Regions from separate parts of the Homo sapiens genome. Here regions 1 and 2 are each linked to region 3. Evidence: promoter capture Hi-C in human tissues and cell types (Jung and others, 2019). All regions are on one chromosome and are shown on one strand. The core of a region is centred on a gene start or on the middle of the fragment in contact, and the rest is flanking DNA. Distances in the headings are between cores, read along the strand shown. Region 1 holds the start of RALY (RALY heterogeneous nuclear ribonucleoprotein). Region 2 overlaps ITCH (itchy E3 ubiquitin protein ligase). Region 3 holds the start of CEP250 (centrosomal protein 250).

Evidence for each region. The method cuts DNA at HindIII sites, captures the fragments that hold promoters and counts their contacts. A contact is called where the count stands out against the background at its distance.
Region 1: a contact is called between the fragment with the promoter of RALY here and the fragment with the promoter of CEP250 in region 3, in 1 of the 25 tissues and cell types used here (hippocampus).
Region 2: a fragment that was not itself captured here is called in contact with the fragment with the promoter of CEP250 in region 3 in 1 of the 25 tissues and cell types used here (aorta).

Annotation. Positions count from the first base shown.
Region 1 is chr20:33,990,419-33,995,160 of GRCh38, reverse strand. RALY (RALY heterogeneous nuclear ribonucleoprotein) reads right to left here and starts at 1,250. Exons shown (of 10, transcript NM_016732.3): 1 at 1,030-1,250. It overlaps RALY-AS1 (RALY antisense RNA 1), which reads left to right and starts at 794. Exons shown (of 2, transcript NR_109886.1): 1 at 794-956; 2 at 2,256-2,673. RefSeq lists silencers at 530-859, 1,080-1,129, 1,190-1,319, 1,500-1,609, 1,780-2,029 and enhancers at 1,807-2,333, 2,270-2,349. The HindIII fragment of the contact is 6,560 bases long and covers 1-3,324 here.
Region 2 is chr20:34,452,498-34,456,664 of GRCh38, reverse strand. All of the region lies in intron 12 of ITCH (itchy E3 ubiquitin protein ligase), which reads right to left. Among named protein-coding and RNA genes, the nearest start is that of MIR644A, 12 kb to the left of the region's middle. The HindIII fragment of the contact is 4,557 bases long and covers 1-3,674 here.
Region 3 is chr20:35,452,577-35,457,382 of GRCh38, reverse strand. It overlaps CEP250 (centrosomal protein 250), which reads right to left and starts at 1,785. Exons shown (of 35, transcript NM_007186.6): 1 at 1,632-1,785. It overlaps MIR1289-1 (microRNA 1289-1), which reads left to right and starts at 3,286; the gene lies at 3,286-3,429. It also overlaps a transcript of GDF5 not described here. RefSeq lists a silencer at 1,991-2,370 and enhancers at 2,391-2,540, 2,801-2,850. The HindIII fragment of the contact is 9,261 bases long and covers 1-3,604 here.

The sequences.
Region 1 (4,742 bases), core at 1-2,500, 1.5 Mb after region 3:
TTCATCCACAGTATAGTGGACAACGGCCCAGAAGTCAGGGAAAACCCAGAGTTATGCCCCTAATTAAATGGTGTGACCCAAGGCTAGGTAAAAATACCCTCTGCACTAAGAGATGATACATGCTCACACCAGGAAATATTAATAAATAATAGGTACTGGCACCACTCCTTTGCACTTCTGTGGCTACTGTGACTTGGAGAAAATTACTTGACCCCTCTGCGCCTTAATTTCTGCTTTTGTAAATGAGGATAAACCAGAAGGCCGTTGTGAACATTAAATGAAATAAGGCTTGGGAAGTTCCTGGGTGAAGTCTCATTAAATGTTCCCTGTCGGTGTTAAACACTTCTTTCACATATTAGTTCCCTCCCTGAATCCACGAACACCCCGCAAAGCGAGTTTCCTTCTTTCCCCCCATGTCACCGAGAGGCAAACTAAGACTCGGCCGCCAAGGAGGCTGAGTGAAACGCGGATACGGCCCCAGTTCGAGGGCCCGTTGTTGTTTCTCTCCGAGCCCAAGGCGTGCAAAGAGCCCAGAAGAGGCGGGAGCCGAGGCAGGACAAGCTCTGCGCGCCTCCGGGAGCCCGTAGACCCAGTCCGGGTTAGGAGAGCCGGAAGCAGCCGCGGCCGGGCCCGCCTGCGGCCTCCCCGGAGCAGCCTCCGTTCCCCTCCCTCCGCCCCTCGCCGGGCGGGGCGGGGCACGAGCACAAAAGACTCCAACTTCCGAGCGGGCGCGGGCCCACCCAGCCAACTACTGGCCCAGACTTGGCCCGCGGAGAGAGCAGACAGGGAACGCCGGGAGCAGGACCGGGCGCGGAGGGCTGGGGCCGGGGACCCGGGGCGGCGGGTCCGAGTGGGAGAAAGGAGCGGCGGAGGGGGCCTAGAGTTACTCGGGCTCCCGGGACTCCCCGAAGGGCAGAAATAAGTTTCTAAAAATAGGCAGCGGCCTGCCGGAAGAAGTGAGTGAACGGAAAGGCACAAAGCACACACCCTCCCCGCACCCCTAAGGAGACGCCCGCAGTCCCCACTCACCCGCGCCGAGAGGTCTGGAGGAAGCCGCGCGGCTGGGAAGGAGGCGGTACTGCCGCACTCGGGGACGTAAGGGAGGGAGGAAAAGGGCGGCTGCGGCGGGAAGAGGCTGGGCACACGCGCGGGAGTCGTCGTCGTCGCCGTCGCCGCCGCTACCGCCCCCTCAGCTTCTCTGGGTTCCGCTGCCCCGAGCTGGCGCCGCTCGCGCGCCCCGCCGCACTGACAGCGGCGCGAGCCCCGCAACCGCGAGCCCTGCCCTCGGCCGGCACCACTGAGGCGCGCGGGGGTGGGGGCACCCGGAGCGGCTCCCCGCAGCTCGGCTCCGCCCGCCGCTCCGGCCCTGGTTCCGGGCTCTCCTCCTTCTCTGTCTCCTGGGAAGGACACGGTGACACGAGCACGAGGAGTCTGCAGCCCCGCCCAGAAACAGCCCGGCTTCCCAGGCGCATGGGCTCTCCCCACCCTCTCAGCCTGGCTTTGGAAAGGTCCAGAGCTTCGGCGGGGACGGGAGGAAGGCGGGGCCAGGGTGGGGCCTGAAAGGGAGGAGGGACTGAGACGCGGCTTGGGGAGGCGGGGCTGGGGCGGGAAGAGGGCAGCTTGCACAGGTTTGGAGCCGAAGTAGGGGCGGAGCTAAGATGGTGATGAGGCCCTGGGAAGAGGGTCGCCGGACCAGTGGGGAAGGCCGTGCAGGAGATGGAGAGCCGGGAACCAGGACAGCGCTTGAAAGGAGATGCTGTGGGCGGGGCTAAATGGAGAATCGCCCAGAGGGCGGAGCCACGGGTGGAGGGAGGCGGGGCTGAAGAGAAGCTTAGAGTGGGAGGAAGATGGAAGCGGGCCTGAAGGAGGCGGGCCCGGAAGCAGGGAGGGGAGGAGGGGCCCCGGGGGTGGCTACTCTGGGCGGGTGCCGGAAGGAGGCGTGCCCCAAGGAAGGACTGAGGGGTGGTGCTTGAGGTGGGCGGGGCCTGGAGATGGCGCTCAAATCTGCAGGCTGTGGGCGGTGCAGGAGGGATCCGGAAGAGACGAGGCAGGAAGAAACTCCTGGTCCTTTCGCTTTTAAGGAACGTGCCACCTAGACAAGGTGAGGGTCGCTCTTCGCTGCCTAATCTGGGACTGGGCGGAGAGGCCGCGCTAAGGGTGATCTCCGAAAAAGATGCAGGAGATGTTTTATAACTTGATCCAGGTGCTAGTCCTCTCTCCTACACATTTCTCCTGTCGGGATTTCTCACTTTCAGTGTTCCAGCCTCCGGTGAACCAGTCTTCCTAGTGAGAGCACGAGAAGCCCGTTGTCCTTCATTCCTCAGCTATGGATTTCCCTGAAAGTTGAGAACTGACCATATTCTCGATGCCTCCTCCGACCTGTGATTTCATGACTCACATCGCTTCCCCAGAACCTGCTTAACAGACGGGATTCCTGAGAATGGAGCAGAGTTTGAATTCAGAGTCCTGGCTTTGCCATACCAGCAGTTATAATTGTCCTTCTGTTGTTTGATGACCTCCCTGCCCTGCTTCAAAAGGAAGAGAAATCAAAGAGTTGACGACCCTGAGCGCAAGGCCTGGGACGTTCTTCCCCAAACTCGCTTTAATATCACCTTCTCAAAAGAACTCTTCCCTGAACACCTTGTCTCAAGATGTTCTCTAGTTTGTCTTCTTGTTCTGTCATTTATTTGTCTGTTCATTGTTTGTGTGTTTTTTGAGGCGGAGTCTAGCTCTGTCGCCTAGGCTGGAGTGCAGTGGCACGATCTCGGCTCTCTGCAACCTCTGCCTCCTGGGTTCAAAGCGATTCTTGTACCTCAGCCTCCCAAGTAGCTGGGATTACAGGCGTGTACCACCATGCCCGGCTAATTTTTGTATTTTCAGTGGATACGGGGTTTCATCATGTTGGCCAAGCTGGGCTCTAACTCCTGACCTCAGGGGATCTGCATTTGAGGATAAACCCTGTCTTGGCTCCTCCCTGACGGGGGTGAGAAGTAGCCCTCCTGGAATTGCCTCAAAGCCCCCGGTTATCACCAGTGTTCTCGGTTGCAAATTACGAAACATAAATAAACTCAGACTAACAGATGCAGCAAAGGAATTTATCAGGAAGGAATGGGGAGCTCCCAGAACTGATGGGAAGGCTGGAGAACCAGGCTCAGAAAATGCACTGAAGTGGTGAGCGCAGAGGCTTGAATGTTGCCAGGACTCTCCTCCCAGTCCTTTATCTCTTCTCTCTGTATGCGAGCTTTTCTCCTCAAGGCTAGGCACCTGGCTGCAGCAGCGCTCACCACTCACAACTCTCACCCGTTCCACCGGAGAGAGACTGAGGATTTCTGCTTCTGGTCTGAAGGACAAAATTTTAGGGAAAAACTTTGATTGGTCCAACATAGGTAAGTCCCCGTCCCTAGACCAATCATCTATGGGTGGAAAACCAGGTGCTGTGACTGGCCCAACTTAAGCCAGGTGCCATTCTCTAACCAATACTGTGAATAAGGAAGTGGGACGTACAGGGAGATGGCAGCCCCATCGGAACCATATGGTCAGAGAAAGATGCATTTCCCAAAAGATGGAGTTCATGCTCTGGGGCAGATTGAATAATAGATTTTCACTACACCTGCCCCAGAGTTACCCCCAACCAATACATTACTTACTGCCCAACTCTCATCATTCCTTCTCTGCTCAAAACCCTTCAATGGGCTGGGCGCGGTAACTCACGCCTGTAATCCCAGTACTTTGGGAGACCGAGGTGGGGGGGATTACTTGAGGTCAGGAGTTCAAGACCGGCCTGGGCAACATGGTGAAACCCCATCTCTACTAAAAATATAAAAATTAACCGGGCGTGGTGGCAGGCACCTGTAATCCCAGCTACTCAGGAGGCTGAGGTGGGGTAATCGCTTGAACCTGGGAGGTGGAGGTTGCAGTGAGCCGAGATCATGCCACTGCACTCCAGCCTGAGACACAGAGAGAGACTCCGCCTCAAAAACAGAAAAACAAAAAACAACCTTCAATAGCCTCCCATTGCCATGTCATCAGCATGGATCAAAAACTCAAATGTCATGCCGGGCACAGTGGCTCATTCCTTTAATCCCAGAATTCTGGGAGGCTGAGGCAGGAGGATTGCTTGAACCCAGGAGTTTGAGACCAGCTTGGGCAACATAGTGAGACCCTGTCTCTACAAAAAAAAAAATTTTAATTAGCTGGCATGGTAGCATGTGCCTGTACTTCCAGCTACTTGGGAGGCTGAGGCCAGAGGATCACTTGAGCCCAGGAGGCCAAGGCTACAGTGAGACATGCTCACACCACTGCATCCAGCCTAGGCAACAGAGTGAGACCCTTCTCAAAACAAATAACAACAACAGCAAACCCTCAGGTGTCTACAGGGGCTAGAAAGAAGGTTAGGCATGAGACAATAGGGAGTGGAGAGCACTGTCATGAACTGGAGGATGTGTGTTGCATACTGTTCCTAGAATGCAGGTGCTGAGATGTAGGATTCTTCAAGAGAGCCCCCAAATCTGGATTTTCATATAAAATCTCCCAATTTCTAAATGTTGGCTCAACTATTTTTAAAAACCCTGTGCAAGCCAAATGAATTATGTCTGCAGGCCAATTACTGTAGGCTGTGGTCTAAAAATGAGCAATCTCTGACCTTTATAGGATAAAGCCTATAATCACACACCCACCTTTGGGGTCTGTCATCTATTACTACGTAAGAAATCATCCCGAAAATGTAGTGACTTAAAACAACA
Region 2 (4,167 bases), core at 147-2,646, 1.0 Mb after region 3:
CACACATATATATATATATATTTTTTTTTTTGGAGACAAGGTCTCACTTTGTCACCCTGGCTGGAGTGCAGTGGCGTGATCTCAGCTCACTACAGCCTTGACCTCCCAGGTTCAGGTGATCCTCCTGCCTTAGCCCCACAACTTGTACAACTTGATTTTTAGAAACTAAGCTTTTTAAAAAGTTTGAATCCATTCTGTGATCTTTAATACATCAGTTATTCATTTTGAGACATGTTGAACAAATAAAAAAATTAGGATACCAGAAGAGTCCCATCTTTTGAAGAATTAATTGGTAATGGGACAGAGAAGCAACTTCCGGGGCTAAGGCAGGAGGGTCACCTGAACCTGGGAGGTCAAGACTGCAGTGAGCTGAGATCATGCCACTGCACTCTAGCCTGGGTGACAAAGTGAGGCCCTGTCTCAAAAAAAAAAAAAAAAAAAAAAAAAAAATATATATATATATATATATATATATATATACACACACACACACACACACACACACAATATATAAAAATATATATAAAATAAGGAATATAATGTAATTTGAGAGTGTGTATATATACATACATATATATACAAAATAAGGAATATAATATAAGGTATATGCTAGGCATTATTCAACTAAAAAATACTTCCTTTCTTAATACACTTAACATATCTCGTTCCTTAATATACCCAGTTCCAAAATCCTAAATATCTACAGTAACTTTCTATACAAGGGATAGGAAGCAGAACTCAGTTCTCTAATTACTGCATCTAAAGCTGCTGCTTGTTCCCCAACTGCCTCTTGCTTTAGGATTCTCCCTGTTTTCGTGTTCCCAGTCTACAAAATTTTACCTGCTTTCCTGAAATCTCCCCATTAAGGTTTAGAAGATGTGGATATTGGCCGGGCGCAGTAGCTCATGCCTGTAATTCTAGCACGTTGGGAGGCAGAGGCGGGCGGACTGCCTGAGCTCAGGAGTTCAAGACCAACCTGGGCAACATGGTGAAACCCCGTCTCTACTAAAATACAAAAAAGAAAAAAAAAAAAAATTAGCCAGGCATGGCGGTGTGCACCTGTAGTCCCAGCAACTCGAGAGGCTGAGGCAGGAGAACTGCTTGAACCCGGGACGCAGAGGTTACAGTGTGCCGAGATGGATTACAGCCTGGCGACAGAGCAAGACTCCGTCTCAAAAAAAAAAAAAAAATGTGGATATCATTTTCTCTTTTAGTAAACAAATTAAGTAGACTTGAAATTTTAACAGTTCTGCTGTTTTTGAATTACTGACTTCTCTGTCCCATTACCAATGAATTCTTCAAAAGATGGGATTCCTGCTGTATCCTAATTTATTTGTTCAACATGTCTCAAAATGAATAACTGATGTATTAAAGATCATAGAATGAACTGATGTATTAAAGATCATAGAATGAACTGAAACTTTTTAAAAAGCTTAGTTTCTAAAAATCAGCATTTTAAACAAAAATTTAAGTTTAATCCATGTTGACATGGCTAATTTTTATTTCCTGTGGTTTGAAAAATTGGTTAACTATTGGTCCTGCGCTGTGGCTCACGCCTGTAATCCCAGGACTCTGGGAGTTATAAGGCAGGCGGATGGCCTGAGGTCACGAGTTTGAGACCAGCGTGGCCAACAGGTCGAAACCCCGTCTCTACTAAAAATACAAAAATTAGCTGGGCATGGTGGTGGGCATCTGTAATCCCAGCTACTAGGGAGACTGAGGCAGGAGAATCGCTTGAACCCGGGAGGCAGAGGTTGCAGTGAGCCAAGATCATGCCATTGCACTCCAGCCTGGGCGACAAGAGCAAAACTCCATCTCAAAAAAAAAAAAAAAAAAAAAAAAAAAAACAGGAAAAGAAAAAAGAAAAATTGGTAACTATTTTTCAAATTAACACTTGAGATCATCTGGATCAGTTTTAGGCCAAATTATAGTCTTGTCAAGTTCGTATTTGGTAATATTTAATTTTATTTCCAATATAATTCCATGATTTCAAGTAGTAGTGATAACAGAGGTTAAAATGGATGTAACTAGTGAGTATCACAAACCTGCTTCTGACATTTAAAGCTACTTTCTATGTCAGCTTAGCTTAAAATGAAAATAGAATTCCAATGTGCATAATATACAGAAAAGTGGGACTCTGCCTCTCATGACACAGGTTTTGCTGGTCAAGGCATCTTCAGTGCATAAGCTTATCACCAACTCAAAGGCTGTCTCTAAAGAAAAACATAGGCCGGGCGCGGTGGCTCACACCTGTAATCCCAGCACTTTGGGAGGCCGAGGCGGGCGGATCACGAGGTCAGGAGATCGAGACCATCCTGGCTAACACAATGAAACCCCGTCTCTACTAAAAATACAAAAAATTAGCCGGGCGTGGTAGCGGGCGCCTGTAGTCCCAGCTACTCGGGAGGCTGAGGCAGGAGAATGGCGTGAACCCGGGAGGCGGAGGTTGCAGTGAGCCGAGATCGCGCCACTGCACTCCAGCCTGGGCGACAGAGCGAGACTCCGTCTCAAAAAAAAAAAAAAGAAAAACATAATCACCCACAGTGTTACAGCTTGCTCTTGTTAACATAACAGCAAGATAAGTTCATGTCTTGGCAGTCGCATTAAATTTTAAAAATTTATTTGCAGAATCCAGAATTCTCTCTTTGTTCTTCTTCTTCTTTTTTGAGACGGAGCCTTGCTCTGTCACCCAGGCTGGACTGGAGTGCAGTGGCGCGATCTCAGCTCACTGCAGCCTCGACCTCTCAGGTTTAAGCAATTCTCCTGCCTCAGCCTCCCAAATAGCTGGTACTACAGACGTCCACCACCACTCCCAGCTAATTTTTGTATTTTTTGTGGAGACAGCATTTCACCATGTTGGCCAGGCTGATCACGAACTCCTGACCTCAGGTGATTCACCCGCCTCGACCTCCCAAAGTGCTGGAATTACAGGCATGAGCCACCGTACCCAGCCAGAATTCTCTTTCTTGTTTAAAAATATATATCCAAATAATTTTTATAACCTAAAAATAATACCCTAAGTATATAGCTGAGCACATACTCAACTTTTTTCTCTCTCTTTTGGTTTTTTGAAAGAGTATCACTCTGTTGTCCAGGCTGGAGTGCAGTGATACAATCACAGCGCACTATAGCCTTGACCTCCGGGGCTCAAGCAACCCTCCCACTTCAGCCACCCAAGTAGCTGGAACTACAGGCATGCCACACCCAACTAATTTTTGTATTTTTTGTAAAGATGGGGTTTCACCATGTTGCCCCAGCCTGGTATCGAACTCCTGGACACAAGCCTTGGCCTCCCAAAGTACTGGGATTACAGGCGTGAGCCACTGTAATGGCCATTCATCTTTTATCTGTCAGCAAAGTTCAGATTTCAGGCCAAGATTTTCCTTTCAGAAGATAACATGAGGCAAGAGAAAATTAATAGCAAACATTTTTCTCATATATATTCTAAGTATATGCTGCTGAGATCAGCCTTGACACATTTGTGAACTGAAGGCTCATCTACTTAATGAGAGGAAGTGCTGTGGCTGTAGAACGGATTTCTGACTTTGTTGAAAAATCACATAATAAACAATACTGAAATTACTGAACATCAAATCCAAATGCAGATTAGAACACTTCCTGACTTGATGAATAAAACAGTAAAAAACAGACACTTCTTGTCATTCTATGTATTCTTTCACAGTAACTAGGAAAATGAGAGAATATCTTCATACTTGATTGGCGAAGCACCTATACAAAGCCCTATTAAATAATACTGGTGAACCAAAAGTATTCTTTGTTCTTTATCCTCTATAGTATGTTCATGTGTTAAAAATTCTTCACTGCCTAGCTAGGCATCGTGGCACAAAACTGTAATTCCAGCTACTCAGGAGGCTGAGGCATTGCTTGAGGCCAGGAGTTCAAAGCTGTAGTGTGCAATTACTATGCTGGAGAACAGCCACTGCACCCCAGCCTGGGCAACACAGGGAGACCCCCATCTCTAAAAAACCAATTATTCACTGAGCCTATGAGGTAGGAATGTCTAGTCCCAGCATATAAAAGTCTGAAAGGGTGCAAGCTGTAAGATGGGATTCTATCAACCTGGGTCAATCCTGAAGGTATGTTGGGTGGGTTGCTTCATCTGATATACTACCAGTGCTGTCACTGGTTCTACAAGTAAGGTATATG
Region 3 (4,806 bases), core at 536-3,035:
ATAAATAAAATACTATCACCTCTCCACATAACACTAGTACTTTTATTTACCTTACCATGCTTTTTCTGTCCCTATCTAATTATTATGTAATATACTTACCAAAATGCAAATTCCACAAGTGCAAAAGCATTGTTTTATCGAATGCTGTATTCCCAGCTCCTACCTAAAACACAGCCTGGTTTATAACAAGTGCCCATTATTACTGACTATTATAGGACATTAGGTAACATGATCCATATTATCACCAATGGTCTTGCAAAATGCTAACAGCTCTATTACCTATATAAAAAGCAAAAAAACAGGCTGGGTGTGGTGGCTCACAACTGTAATCCCAGCACTTTGGGAGGCTGAGTTGGGCAGATCATTTGAGGCCAGGAGTTCGAGACCAGCTTGGCCAACATGGCAAAACCCCATCTCTCCTAGAAATACAAAAATTAGCCAGGCACGGTGGCGGGCGCCTGTAATCCCAGCTACTCAGGAGGCTGAGGCGGGAGAATCGCCTGAACCTGGGAGACAGGATGTTCCAGTGAACCCAGATCGCACCACTGCACTCCAGCCTGGGTGACTGAGACCAGGTCTCAAAAAAAAAAAAAAAAGTGGGGGGAGGCATATAACTTATAGCTTGGTCAGTGGCAGAGCAATGACTGAACCCCAATCTGATTCCAAATTCTACACTCTCTCCATTACATTAGCTGTTAAAGCATGAACATTACATTAGTTAAAGCATGGACTACGAACTCACAGCTCTGTGAGGGGCACTTCTTAAATAGTGAGCGATAATGACACCTATGTCTGCAGCTTTCTGATCGAAAAGGAGCAAAGAAAGATAGAAGAACTAAAGGAACAGAGGGCGTACCAGTAGCCTTGGTTTTGTTGTGACCTCTATAAATCTGGGACCAGTTCTCCTTTCTAAGCCTTCGCGGTAAAATACTGATCACAAGCCTAGCCTCCAATAACTCCCAGGGCCAAAGTAAAGATCAATTCAACAGACGTTGATTAAACCCAAAGGCAATCTAGTCAAGTCATCAAATGCCCTGGGGACAGTTTCCCAGCTCCATCCACTTATTAGTTGTGGGACTCCTGGCAAATTACTTTTTCTATGAATACCTCAGTTTCTTCATGGGTAAAACGTGAAGCTATAGAAAGAACTCACCCCATAGGATTGTTGGGAAGATTAAATAGGCCTTTGGCTGAGCGCGGTGGCTCACGCCTGTAATCCCAGCACTTTGGGAGGCCGAAGCGGGCGGATCACCTGAGGTCGGGAGTTCGAGATCAGCCTGACCAACATGGAGAAACCCCGTCTCTACTAAAAACATAAAATTAGCCGGGTGTGGTGGCGCATGCCTGCAATCCCAGCTACTTGGGAGGCTGAGGCAGGAGAATCGCTTGAACCCGGGAGGCGGAGGTTGAGGTGAGCCGAGATCGCGCCATTGCACTCCAGCCTGGGCAACAAGCGCGAAACTCCGTCTCTAAATAAATAAATAAATGGGCCCTTATGTGTAATGCATTCAGTAGCACCTGACAATTTGTGATCATTCCGTACAGTAAGCCATGACTATTATCATCACGTGCTAGGCCCTGGGATCTAGAGATGAAAAAGGCAAGGCATAACATCTAACGAACGAGCTTACGGTGTCAACGAGGGGCCGGGAAAGTAACTCGGTGCACAGCGAGTGCAAAAACCGAGAAGCGAATGCAGCTGCGCCTGGAGAAGGCGGCTGAGAAGCGATACTTCAGCAGGGTCCTGAAGAATGGGAGCTCCAGAGTCGGGTGGCGGGTGGGACTGGGCTTTCGGATAGATTACGTGCAAATCCGCCAGGACACAGGGAGCGAGGGGCGGGGGGGCGGCAGAGCGCGGCGCCTCACCCTCCCAGCCTGGGATTGCGGCTACTGGACACGAGGGTCGGGAAGCTCTCCTTCGGCGCCGACTGGAGCTTAGCGTGCTGGCGGCAGCAAGAAGCTGAGGCAAGCGGGCCCCGGGCCCTAACGACGCGTCCCAGCCCCTCTCTGGGCCTCGGGTTCCTCCCGGGTAACAAGAGGCCGCTGCCCGAACGGGATTCCCTCAGGCGCCCTAGACGGGCGGGTCTCCGGGCCTCGGACGGTTAACCCGAGCACCTCCCACCTGCCCCTGAGGCCCCACCTCACCACGCTCGGCTCCCGCAGACGCCCGGCTAGTTGCTCCGCGATTGAGCTGCGGCAGCCGCTGCTAAGGCCCTGCGGGGGACGGGGGCGGAGCCCACCCCGAGGCAGAGGGCCAGGCCCCGCCCCCCCAAACTCCCGCCCTTTGGGAGGGGCCCGCCCCTCCAAGTCCTGCACCTATAGGCAGACTGAGCCGGCGCAGGGCCTCCCGCCATGTTGGGTATTGGCAGCCGACTTACTAGAGAGGCCCTGAAGGAAAGGGGGTATTATTTTAAGAATTATAAGATCCCTAGCCAGAAATGGGGACGGTCAGGGTCTCTGGATTCGCGAAAGGGACATTTCGGAAGCAGAAAAGAAAAATTGCCCTCAATCATTTCGCTTTTGGCTTCAGTGTTACATACAGCGCATGTGCAAGGTCACCTGGTTCTAGGTGCGCCTGCGCACAGCTCCACCTACAAACCAGACTACAATTACAACTGCCGAGAAACAAAGGGGCTCGCTGCCACTGGTTAGCGATAATACTGGCAGCGCGACCGGTTTCTGAGGGTTGTTCACCTTGCTGCTCAGACGCTCCGAGAAGCTTCAGGCAGCATAACACTTACAGGCGAGTTACTTACTCAACACTCGGTTTTGTCTGCATGTCTCTGCACAGAGTGTTACCTTTACCTGACTTAATCCGTCCCGGAGCTGCAGTTCTGCTTAAGCCTGACTTCTAGAGAACTTTTTCTTCCCAATAGGACCCATGCGTTATTCCTGTAGCATTTTGTGTATAAATTTTTTTTTTTTTTTTTGAAATGGAGTCTTGCTCTGTCGCCAGGCTGGAGTGCATTGGCACGATCTCGGCTCACTGCAACCTCTGCCTCCCAGGTTCAAGTAATTCTCCTGCCTCAGCCTCCCGAGTAGCTGGGACTACAGGCGCCCGCCACCACGCCCGGCTAATTTTTGTATTTTTAGTAGAGACAGGATTTCACCATGTTGGCCAGGATGGTCTCGATCTCTCTTGACCTCGTGATCCTCCCGCCTCGGCCTCCCAAAGGGCTGGGATTACAGGCGTGAGCCACCGCGCCCGGCCTTGTGTATAAATTGTTAATGCACTTTCTTAGAGTTGTAAACTCCATTTACCTGCCTCACTCTTGCACTCAGTGGTTCTCAATTTTTAGTAGGAATTAAAAACAAAACTGGTAAATGCAGACTCTTGGTTTCCACCCCCAGAGAATCCCTAAACCGGGGGTGGAGTCCAGGAATCTGCATTTTAGAAAGTACCCAGGGTGATTCTGATAATTGGGAACACGTTTTAGGAAGCGCTGCATGAGATTGTGAGCTTGAGCGTAGAGACTGTAATTTGGTCATCTGACTATAGCGCTCAGCACAAGGCCTGGTACAAAATAGGTGCTCAATAAGTGCTGAGTGAATGGGTGAATGAGTGGATAGCTCGAGTGAAACAGCAAGGCTTCAGGTTAATCCACAGCCAAAGGTAACCTGAGAAAGGAACGCTTAAAAGCTATATTTTATCTTTCTCCTGTAAGAACACAAAAAAGATCTTAATAGCTAATTTGAGAAATAGAGAAAGTGGAGAGTAAAAGGGGAAGGAAGGACACGGATTCTGAAAGGCAAACTATCTAGAGAGGGGAAAAGGAACATCTCCAGGCACTAGACAGAGAAAACGATGCAAAGAAGCAGTGGTGTGGGATTCCATCCTAGGGAAATAATCCCACAACAGGCATTGTGCTTGAATGTTCACTGCAACAATATTTGAAATACAAATGAAACAATCTAAATATTATGCACATCAAGCTCTTTTCTGCCTCAGGGCGTTTGCATACACTATGCCAGCTACCTAGACCACTTTTCCCCCAGCTCTTGGCCTAGCTGGTACCTTCCTGTCCTTCAGGTCCCAGCTTAAATGATACTTCCTCAACTAGGTCTTCCCTGACCATGCTATCTAAAGTAATACCCTATACTTTCTAGGATAGTCTTCTGTTTCTTTTCTTTTTGAGACGGGGTCTTGCTTTGTCGCCCAGGCTGGAGTGCAGCGGCGCAATCTCGGCTCACTGCAAGCTCCACCATCCGGGTTCACGCCATTCTTCTGCCTCAGCCTCCCCAATAGCTGGAACCACAGGTGCCCGCCACCACGCCCGGCTAATTTTTTTGTATTTTTAGTAGAGACGGGGTTTCACCGTGTTAGCCAGGATGGTCTTGATCTCCTGACCTCGTGATCCGCCCGCCTCAGCCTCCCAAAATGCTGGCATTACAGGCATGCGCCACCGCACCCGGCCGTCTTCTGTTTCTTTCATAGCACTTTCCATTTATTATTTTGTTTTCCTATTAACATTCCCTCCAAAATTTAAGCTTTGTGTGGATAGGAGACTTATTCCTGGGATTTAGCACAGTCTTACACACATGGTAGGTATCAAGTAAGTGTCCATTGAATGAATGAATCAAGTCAGCCCTAGTGTTACAAAGTTTAATGACATAACATCCATTAGCAAACTAGACAATATTTTTTAAGACTATGAGGAGTCGGCCGGGTGCGGTGGCTCACGCCTGTAATCCCAGCACTTTGGGAGGCTGAGGTGGGCAGATCACCTGAGGTTGGGAGTTCAATACCATCCTGACCAACAGGGAGAAACCCCATCTCTACTAAAAATATAAAATTAGCTAGGCGTG